Linked DNA regions of Homo sapiens: region 1 is linked to region 2. Evidence: promoter capture Hi-C in human tissues and cell types (Jung and others, 2019). All regions are on one chromosome and are shown on one strand. The core of a region is centred on a gene start or on the middle of the fragment in contact, and the rest is flanking DNA. Distances in the headings are between cores, read along the strand shown. Region 1 overlaps LOC107987105 (a long non-coding RNA gene). Region 2 holds the start of OR13C4 (olfactory receptor family 13 subfamily C member 4).

The links. The method cuts DNA at HindIII sites, captures the fragments that hold promoters and counts their contacts. A contact is called where the count stands out against the background at its distance.
Region 1: a contact is called between a fragment that was not itself captured here and the fragment with the promoter of OR13C4 in region 2, in 2 of the 25 tissues and cell types used here (liver and small bowel).

What each region holds. Positions count from the first base shown.
Region 1 is chr9:104,575,593-104,580,795 of GRCh38, forward strand. The region is part of intron 3 of LOC107987105 (a long non-coding RNA gene); the gene reads right to left. Among named protein-coding and RNA genes, the nearest start is that of OR13C8, 9.0 kb to the left of the region's middle. The HindIII fragment of the contact is 3,489 bases long and covers 2,058-5,203 here.
Region 2 is chr9:104,523,417-104,528,656 of GRCh38, forward strand. OR13C4 (olfactory receptor family 13 subfamily C member 4) reads right to left here and starts at 3,793. Exons shown (of 1, transcript NM_001001919.1): 1 at 2,837-3,793. The coding sequence starts at 3,793. The coding sequence ends at 2,837. The HindIII fragment of the contact is 5,847 bases long and covers 1,029-5,240 here.

The DNA.
Region 1 (5,203 bases), core at 2,552-5,051, 52 kb after region 2:
TATCAACAGCATAATTTCTTAAAAGCTGGAGATCAAATGTCCTAAGATGAGTCACATTTTCCAGTGCTCACACATGTAACATATAAGCTAGCAGCAGCACTTAATGGTTTCACGTTAGTACCACTTGCTTATTCCCAGCAAAAGCAGATCAAATGCTCTCTGGAGGAAATAATCTTCAGTTTAATTCTGCAGGATACCCAAAGAAAAATTGAATTTACACTCACAAATCACTCAACACAACAGAAGTAAACCGCCATTAGTGAGAGTCCACACTCACAATAACCAGTCATTGTAAATGAACTAAACTCATAATTTTTAAAGTAGTATTATTATAATAGACATATAATATTTTATTTTAAGGGAATACATAACTTTCATTTTATTTTAATATGTATGTTTTCTACTACATACAACAACATAGGGGTTGAAGTAAAAAGAAGGAAAAAGTATACTAGGCAAGTAACAATCAAAAGCTGATGTTTCTATATTAATATGTGACAAAATTGATTTAAGATCAAAAAGCATTACTAGAAGTAAAAGAGGAAGTTGCATTATGATAAATGTTTATTTAATCAGTAAAACATGAATTGTAAGCTTTATTCTCCTAATAAAACAGCCTCAATATATAAAAGAAAACTCAATATAACTACATATCATCTTAAGCACTGAAAGAATAAACAGACAAATATAAGGATCAACAGATTTGAACAAAAACATTAACGAGCTTATCAGCCCAACTATTATGGAATATAGATTCTTCTAAAACACATTTGAGACATTTGCAAAAATTGATATTATGTTAGGCTGAAAGCAAGAATCAGTAAATTTTAAGGAAGCAATATTAAACAGTCATATTCTCTTTCCTATATATGATTAAATTAAAGGTAATTAATTAATTTAAAAGTTCCATAACCTGAGACAATTAAAACGCACTTCTAAGTGATTGAGTAGCAGCGATGTTCAAAATATTTAACTTCTGTGGCAAGTGTTCTAGTAAATTAGAATAAATATTTGCCATAAACAACCAGTGTGGCCATAGTAATTAGTGTGTGCCAGCAGTGTCAGCCCTTGCTCATAGGTAAGAGAAAAAAATTACAAACAAAAAAATTAAAATTACAACCCCCAAATTAAAATCTCATAAAACCATGCTTAAGACTGCAGCCAGTAGTACAGCTGTATTACTTGTTTATAGTTGGTGTCCATTCTGATCGGGTGGCAGCTATGCCATAGTCTTTGTTAAATACATTCACTATTAATCCTGCTAAGAAATAAAGTGTACTTGAATAATGCATATTAACCTTTACCAGGTTCAGAAAAAGTAACTTTTTCTGGAAAATGTTTATACTTAAATTCTTGTAGAAAACTTGACTTCATAAGGAAGAAAAAAGGAAGGAAACAAAAGGAAAGAAAGACAATGAGAAGGAACAATCTAAGTAATTTGAATTCAGAGAGGATATGCTAAGCATTTTGCTATTTATTCATATTATACTATTTCTAATTAAATCTTCATAGTAATAGTGAAAATTATATTTTCTTGTTCTTAATTTACAGCTGAAGAGACTAAGATTCCTAGAGGTTCTAAGTGGAAAAGCTATGTTTCTTTTCTCTAGATGCCTGCTAGTCAGGAGGGAAACATCTGAAAGTCCAGTTGCTTCTGAGTCATGAAAAATAATCCAAAGGTATTAGAAGGCAAGAGAGTTAATAAAGAGAGTTAAGTTACTGGATTTTACCTTGGTATTTCTCTAAAGCTGTTAAACTGGATACTTAGATTAATTCGGGGGACTATGATGACCAAGTCCTGTGATGATTGTGGCCGTGATGTAGAGTGGATAATAGTTTGACCTTTTCTTGATCCCAGTATTGCATCATCCTCTTGAGAAATTTATGGATATCCCTGTACTCACAGGTAAAGGACAGTAAGCGCTAGGACCAAGGGCTTTAACCAGAAAAACTGCTGAATAAACCTGGGGTCATGGGTTTTCAGCGCGATGTACTTTAGGGAAGATGAGAGGGTGCAAGAAATTTTTGTTAATTAAGAGAGACAGAAAAACTTAGTGGTAAGGAGACTAAATATGTTGTCAAACTGCTTAGATTGGAATCTCACCTCCACATCTATCTTGCTTGCCTATGCAAGTGATTTAATGTCTTTGAACCTCAGTTTTCTGATGTACTGTGAAGGTTAAATGTACCAGCTCACTCATCCACATTTACAGCATTTCTCTCACTGTAGAGAAAGGATGCTTAGTTCAACAAATCAAGGAGGTGGAGAAATAGGGGAGGTTAATTATAAGCAGGTTTACTTGAGGTGATAGCGAATCACCAGGTTGATGGAATCCAGCCGGTATATGGAGATGCAAATTAAAACACTAATGATGGACATTCCATTTGATGCTATAGATGGTGTAATTCTTGATGCAAATATTATAGGTAATGCAGAATATGAGAAAAGTAGAGCAACCGTTACTAACTTCACCCCACCTTCTAAAGAAGAAAGAAATACAAGCACTAAAAGAGAGGCAAGCAGGCTGTCCAAGGGGTGGAAAAAGAGGCATGGCTATGTAGTCTCAGAGATCACAAAATGAAGAGCCTCCAAAGCCAAAGGGACTAACCTAACTCTAAGAATGGATATTAGAGATACTAACATCAAAAATATCAGAGATACCCGTGTAGAAAGAAAGACTCTGACCCAATGAGTTCAGAAATGGTTCCTCTTGGGCATATTGGAGAGGAAACTCTACACCAGTGAAAAGTCCAAAGTTGTCAAGATCAGTAGGACTCTAAACAAAGACGATAGAGCAATTATTTTGCTGAGCCTAGAGAGGAAATTATTTTGACTGTCTCTGGACCAACATCCATAAGGTTTCTAGAGAAATGGGAAAACGAAGAAGGCGACTTTTCCTCGTTGCAAATTAATTAAAAATGAAACAACCACTTCAGTGACTTATGTTTTCTGTAGCTCAGGTAAGGGAACACATTAGACATCATTTATGTCACAAATACATTTAATCCTCATAAAAACCTGAAGATATACATAATTTACACAATAAAGAACAGGTAGTCCAAAAAAGTTATATGAATTGCCCTAGGTCATACAGCTAGGAAGCCACACTGTGGAGGGTGGAGTGCAACTAAAGAGATTCCAAAATTCATACACTTCTTATTACCGCACCGTAGCGCTCCATTTTTTTCTGATTGCTAAAAGACCTGCCAAGACCTCTCTATCCACCTCTGTAGCAAATAGATAATGACAATGTACAGCTCTATATGACCTTTAACCGTGTAAAACAGAGTGCTTCCAGACAGGCCAACCAACTCAGGAAGACCATTTCTTTTCTATTTGTTATCTCTAGCCTGGTAATTTTCTCCCACAGGAATATAAAACACAGTCTAATATTTACACCTGAGCAGGCAACTACATCTCAAAGGACATCATTAAAAGCTGACTGACCTACTTCTCTCTGGTACAAATAGGTTACATAGGGATGATATCCCACGTGCCTGCTAACAGTCTAAAGTCAAGCTTGTTAAAGTGAACTTGTAACTTTTTAACAACACTCTTCCCTCCACAAGTTTTCTGAAGGGAATCTAGGGCTGTTCCTAGGAGATTGATTTCTCCTCTTTAGTTGTAACTAAACAATAAAAAAGGAGCGTATGAGATCATCATGTGGAAAATTTAAAATGGATAATCACTTTATTCTTGGTAAAGAGAGCGGTCCTCTATGAACTGCCATCACCAAGTCATTTAGAAAATGTAATTAGACAGGCTAAAGAAGACTTATTCCAATAGAGACATAGAGTCACAAACTAGTGAGAAAGGGAATATGATAACACATGTATTTTGTTTGGTCACATGGAATTAATGAGATTTGCCACAGTCCTCACCCTTCTATATTGCTTCACATCCAGTCTGTTTCATTCAAATACATCAATTGCATAGCAGTGAAGATATTTGAGTTTGTGACCCCAGAATACATTAAATTATTCAGGTATTTCAATTTCATCCTGGGAAATTAATTCAGGGCCTACATAATTAATGTTATGATTTAAAAAAAAAAAGAATTAGAGTTGTAAGGAAATAGAATGGATCCAACTTTTGGAATGGAGAGTTTTTTCTCCTGCACTGTTCACATATCCAGGACAGCCATGGGATGGAACAATATAAAGGACAATCCTGCAGCACCAAGGATAGGATTCATTAAGACTTTTTTTCCCAACTCTGATTTACGTAATCTACAAAGACACTTAAAGATGGCACAAAGTAAGAGCACAGGGCCAGTAAGATGACTGGCAAATAAACAAAGAATGGTAAGTAAATGATCATACTAATCAGCATGCCTTTGTAATCTGACTATCCATCATGCTGATTCAGAATCACTGTGGAAACTATGACCACCCCCAAACAACAAACTGTTTATTCATCTGAATCTATATAGGTGATATTCTATTAAGTGAGGATACCCAAGCTTTCTAGCAGAGGTTGTATCATAAGTATCTATGAGATGCTTCATTGAGAGTATATTATATTGAATATAACACAAATGTGAGCAAGTGTTCAAGGGTTGATCATGCTGCTTAACTTTTTGTCATGATTGCTCAAATTTGTGATGAAATTTGAGAACTTAAATTTGAATGTCTCAAATAATTATACCATTATTAACATTATTTAGCACCAATCGCAACTAAAAATGTATCTGTATCTGTCCCTTTGACATCTGGTAGCATTTGACACAGGCATCTGCAGTGAGAAGGGAATTGGACCATGCTGACCTTCCATCTCCAGTGTTTCTGCCATACTATGCTCTTCACCCACCCCCACTTCACGCAGAGCTCCAGGAGAAGCATGATGCTCTAGTTCAGCCCTGGCTATTGGGTTGGTTTGAAAGAGCTCAGGTCTTTTAGGGAGCTGAGGCTCTAGGACATACTAGTGAATGTTGCTGGAATGACAGTCCTGAGCTTTGGAAGTATGAGCCATGCTTCTCTCAAACATTTTCTGGTTTATTTTATAGGAACCTGTGCTGCATGTGAAAAAGAAGAACATGTAGTCAGATTGTAGCATTTTCTCTCATTTTGAGACAAATTTCACTGTCCAGAAGAGTATTCTCACAAGACACCAAGTTGTGACCATTTCCCAGTTTGCTATGATTGCGAAACTAGGCCCTGACAGGGATTTATTTTTTAATTAAGAAGTAAGACATAGGCAACA
Region 2 (5,240 bases), core at 2,543-5,042:
GTGTGGTGATTGACAATGGTAGGAAGATTTATGAAAGATATATGGACCCAAATAATTGGTGGCTTACAAAAATAAGATGTGCTAGCTAGTATCCTTTGTCTTCACTTTGGAGTCCTTACTTCAGTTCCTCAGTTGGGACTCATAGGAAAAGTCAATCTCAACGTTCTCTACAAAGGAAACTACAATGAACTTGGCACATTATGTCAGGTATTTTGTGCAACTTACTGAATCTTTACAATAACACTGGGAGCAGGGTTTATTTACTCCCTTTTTGGAAATAAGGAAACTACAGTTTTAAAAACATGAATAAACCTGCCTGATACTACTAAAGTAGTTTTGAATTTATACTCCTCCCATCTATTTTCAAAGCTTTTGTTTGGTGTTTTCTACTGTGTTGCCACAAATACACCAGATATACTTGTTTTGGATATTGCCAGAGAAAATAACTGAAGGAATTTATTGTCTTCACGAGATCTGGGTCAGAACCCATTCGAATCTGTTTACTGTTAGAATTTCAGTAACAGCAGATTACTGTCCTCAGTGATTCTAGATGATCAAAGGTAGTGAAGGCAAAGAATAAAAATCTCTCCTCATAATTTTGCTTTTCTCAGATAAAGTCCTCAATAGTTGCACAATAATGCCATTTCTATGCTGCTTCTTTTAATTTTAAATGACAAAAATTGTACATATTTATGGTACACAAGATGATCTTTTAATACAAGTATTGTATTAGTCCATTTTCATACTGATATGAAGAAATACCTGAGACTGGGTAATTTATAAAGAAAAAGAGGTTTAATGAACTCACAGTTCCACATGGCTGTGGAGGCCTCACAATAATGGCAGACGTCAGAGGAGGAGCAAGATGAGATTTGGGTGGGGACACAGCCAGACCCTATCATTCTGCCCCAGCCCCTTCCAAATCTCATGTCCTCACATTTCAAAACCAATCATGCCTTCCCAACAGTCCCCCAAAGTCTTAACTCATTTCAGCATTAACTTAAAAGTCCATGGTCCAAAGTCTCATCTGAGACAAGGCAAGTCCCTTCTGCCTATGAGCCTGTAAAACCAAAAGCAAGTTAGTTACTTCATAGATACAAAGCGCATATAGGCACTGGGTAAATACACCCATTCCAAATGGAAGAAATTGACTAAAACAAAGGGCTACAAGCTCCATGAAGTCCAAATCCAATAGGGTAGTCATTAAACCTTGAAGTTCTAAAACGATCTCCTTTGACTCCATGTCCAGGTCACACTGATGCAAGAGGTGGGCTCTCATGGCCTTGGGCAGCTCCACCACTGTGGCTTTGCAGGGCACAGCCTCCCTCTCGGTTGCTTTTACAGGCTGGCTTTTCTAGATGCATGGTGCAAGATGTTGGTGGATCTACCATTCTGAGTTCTGGAGGACAATGGCCCTCTTCTCACACCTCAACTAGGCAGTGCCCCAGTGGGGACTTTGTGCGGGGCCTCCAACCCCACATTTCCCTTCTGTGCTGTCCTAGCAGAGGTTCTCCATGGGGGCCCTGCCCCTGCAGCAAACTTCTGCCTGGACATCCAGATGTTTCCATAAATCTGAAATCTAGGCAGAAGTTCCCAAACCATTCTTCACTTCTGTGCACCTGCAGGCTCAACAATATGTGGAAGCTGCCAAGGCTTGGGGCTTGCACCCACTGAAGCCATAGCCCAAGCTTTACCCTGGCCCCTTTTAGCCATGACTAGAGCAGCTGGGACACAGGGCAACAAGTCTTTAGGCTGCACACAGCAGGGTGGCCCTGAGCCTGGCTCAGGAAACCATTTTTTCCTCCTAGGTCTCCAGTCCCGTGATGGGAGGGGCTGCCAGGAAGGTCTCTGATATGCCCTGGAGACTTTTTCCCCACTGTCTTGGCAATAACATTTGGCTCCTCATTACTTATGCAAATTTCTGTAGCAGGCTTGAATTTCTCCTCAAAAAATAGGTTTTTCTTTTCTATCGCATTGTCAGGCTGCAAATTTTCCAAACTTTTATGCTCTGCTTCCTCTTGAATCCTTTACCTACTTATAAATTTCTTCTGCCAGATACCCTAAATCATCTCTCTGAAGTTCAAAGTACCACAGATCTCTAGAGCAGAAGCAAAATGCCACCAGTTTCTTTGCTAAAGCATAACAAGAGTCACCTTTGCTCAAGTTCCCAACAAGTTCTTCATCTCCATCTGAGACCACTTCAGCCTAAACTTTACTGTCTATATCACTATCAGCATTTTGGTCAAAGCCATTCAGCAAGTCTCTAGGAAGTTCCAAACTTTCCCACACTTTCCTATCTTTTTCTGAGCTCTCCAAACTGTTCCACCTCTGCTTATTACCTAGTTCCAAAGTCACTTCCACATTTTCAGGTATCCTTATAGCAGCACCCCACTACCTGTTACCAATTTACTCTATTAGTCCATTTTCATACTGCTATGAAGAAATACCCAAGACTGGGTAATTTATAAAGAAAAGCAGGTTTAATGGACTCACAGTTCCACATGCCTAGGAGGCCTCACAATCATGGTGGGTGGTGAAGGAGAAGCAAAGGCACATTTTACATGGTGGCAGGCAAGAAAGCAGGTACAAGGGAACTGTGCTTTTAATGAAACCATCAGTTCTCATGAAATTTATTCACTATCACGAGAGCAGCATGTGAAAAACCCACTCCCATGGTTCAGTTACCTCCCACCAGGTCAATCCTACAACATATGGGGACTATAGGAGCTACAATTCAAGAATTGGATGGGGACACAGCCAAACCATATCATATGTACATTGTCAAATGGCTAAGGCAAGCTAATTATACATAAAAGACCCATATATCCCTTTGATCTTACTGGTTAATAGCTTTCCTGCTCAGCAAATATTTTATAGCAGCTTTTACATCTTTATTTCTCAAGCTATAGATTATGGGGTTTAACATGGGGGTCACAACCCCATAAAACATGGAAACAAGCCCCTCTGTAGCTTGCAAGTTGTCTTTCCCAAGGAGGTCCTGGGACTTAGGTTTTGCATACATAAAGAAGATGGTACCATAAAATATGATCACCACAGTCAGGTGAGCTGAGCATGTAGAAAATGCCTTGTGTCTTCCTGTGGCCGAGTTCGTTCGCAAGATGGTGTAGAGGATGAACATATAGGAGAAAAAAATCACGAGCAGAGGAAGAACTAGGAAAGCAATATTTGACACTGCTAGGGTAACAATATTGACAGATATATCAGAACAAGCTAATTTTAGGACAGCTAAGATCTCGCATAAGAAATGATTAATAATATTGTTCCCACAGAAAGGCCATCGCATGGCAAGTGATGTTTGCACAGTTGAATTGATTCCACCAGAAAGCCATGATACAGAAGTCAGCAGTACATACACCACCTTGTTCATGATGATGGGGTATCTCAGAGGGTTACAGATGGCCACATAACGATCAAATGCCATCATGCCAAGGAGGAAACATTCTGTTGACCCCATTGCAAACCCAAAGAACATCTGCACTGCACATCCAGAGAAGGAAATGTTTCTTTTCTTTGAGATTAAGCTCACCAGTGTTGAGGGAATGGAGGAGGTTGTATAGCAGATATCCAGGAAAGAGAGGTTGCCCAGGAAGAAGTACATGGGCATGTGAAGACGAGAATCCAAGATGCTTGCTATGATCAGAACACCATTGCCAATTAGAATCACTACGTACATAACTAGAATCAGAGCAAAGAAAATGATCTCAAGTTTGGGGTAACCAGAGAGTCCCAGAAGAATGAATTCTCTCACAAATGTCTGGTTTATCTTGTCCATGTCCCAGCTTTCAGGATGCCAAAGGAAGACCCAATGTATAATATTTTCACAGCCAAGCAACAAATGTAAAAAATAACTTGAATAAACATTACTCTAGGGTGAAATAGAGACTGTTTGTTTTAAAGCTCTGCCATTGAGTTATCTTCAATAGTATTTGTGCCTAGAATACAGCCACACTAGGATGTTTAGAGTTTCTATGCCCTGTATCTAATATGTGAAGATCTACCTAGGATCAGAAGTAAATACAGACACAACTTTTCTTATTGTTGAGGACATCCCAAGTTGAGTTTTCTAAAAGCCTTAGATTATTGCAGACAACAAACCTAACTTCTTCATTTAGTCAAGCCCAGTGAGAGAGCTGCAAAGAAGAAAAAAGACAACTCAACAAGAACCAGAATTTTGACCCAGCGTTTAATAGAAATGTTCAGAATTTTAAAGCAGGTTAGATGTTCACATACATTTGTTTGTCTGCCTAAAACTCTGAATGTCTTTCCAGTCAGATAAATGTGTATTTTTATAGGGAAGATATTTGATAATAGTAAATTGAGCCCCACACACTGCAATTTAACATCTGTTCAAAGGTAAAGTTATTTGTTGATCTCATTCTAACATCCCACTCTTACTATTTTGTTATTCCCTATGACAAGATCATGGTGTAGACCAGCTCTACAAGTATATGATGGAGAATCTTTGGAGAACAATACATGATCTCTATTTGTTTTACCATGGCTTCAGAGTTAATCTTGAGAATTCATTTAAGTAAACCTGAAAAAAGAGGAATAATAGTCAAACATATTTGTGTGTATGTGTGTGCAGCACTTTACAAAAGCAAATGAATCTTCTCATTATCCTTAATTTGCTTTTCTCAAATGTAAAAGACAGAATGTGGCCTATATGTACAAAGGGAAACTTAAAGCTCAGCTCTTTGGATGGCAACACCAAAAGTTATTTTACCTTGTTTTCGCAAAGTACTATCCAAAATTTTTAGCTTTGATGGAATTTCAATTTTTCAAATTTCATATGCACATAAATCACCTGAGGATACTGTTAACATGTAAATTTTATGTTAGCACGTCTGGGGCAAGGCCTGTGATTCTTCATGTCTATTAAGTTCCCAGGGTATGTTGAACCACTGAGATGAGGGCACATTTTGTGTAGCAAGACATTGGTTTATCTATAGTGATTTAGTAGAGTATCCAGAGATTTCTGATCCAAATAGATTTTCTTTTGTGTTATTATATGGACTGGCTTAACAACCTGGAAAATGACTGAAAGCCTAATTCTTTTGTGTTTGCCAGCATACTCCAGGGCCACATCTTGCTGTTCAGTATACTTCAGAAAATAAATGCTATTGAAACATTTTATGAAAGCAGGATAAACTTTTGCTGGACTGCTATAATATGGGTATGATATTACTGATTTCCTAACTTGAGCACAGTCCTCTTCC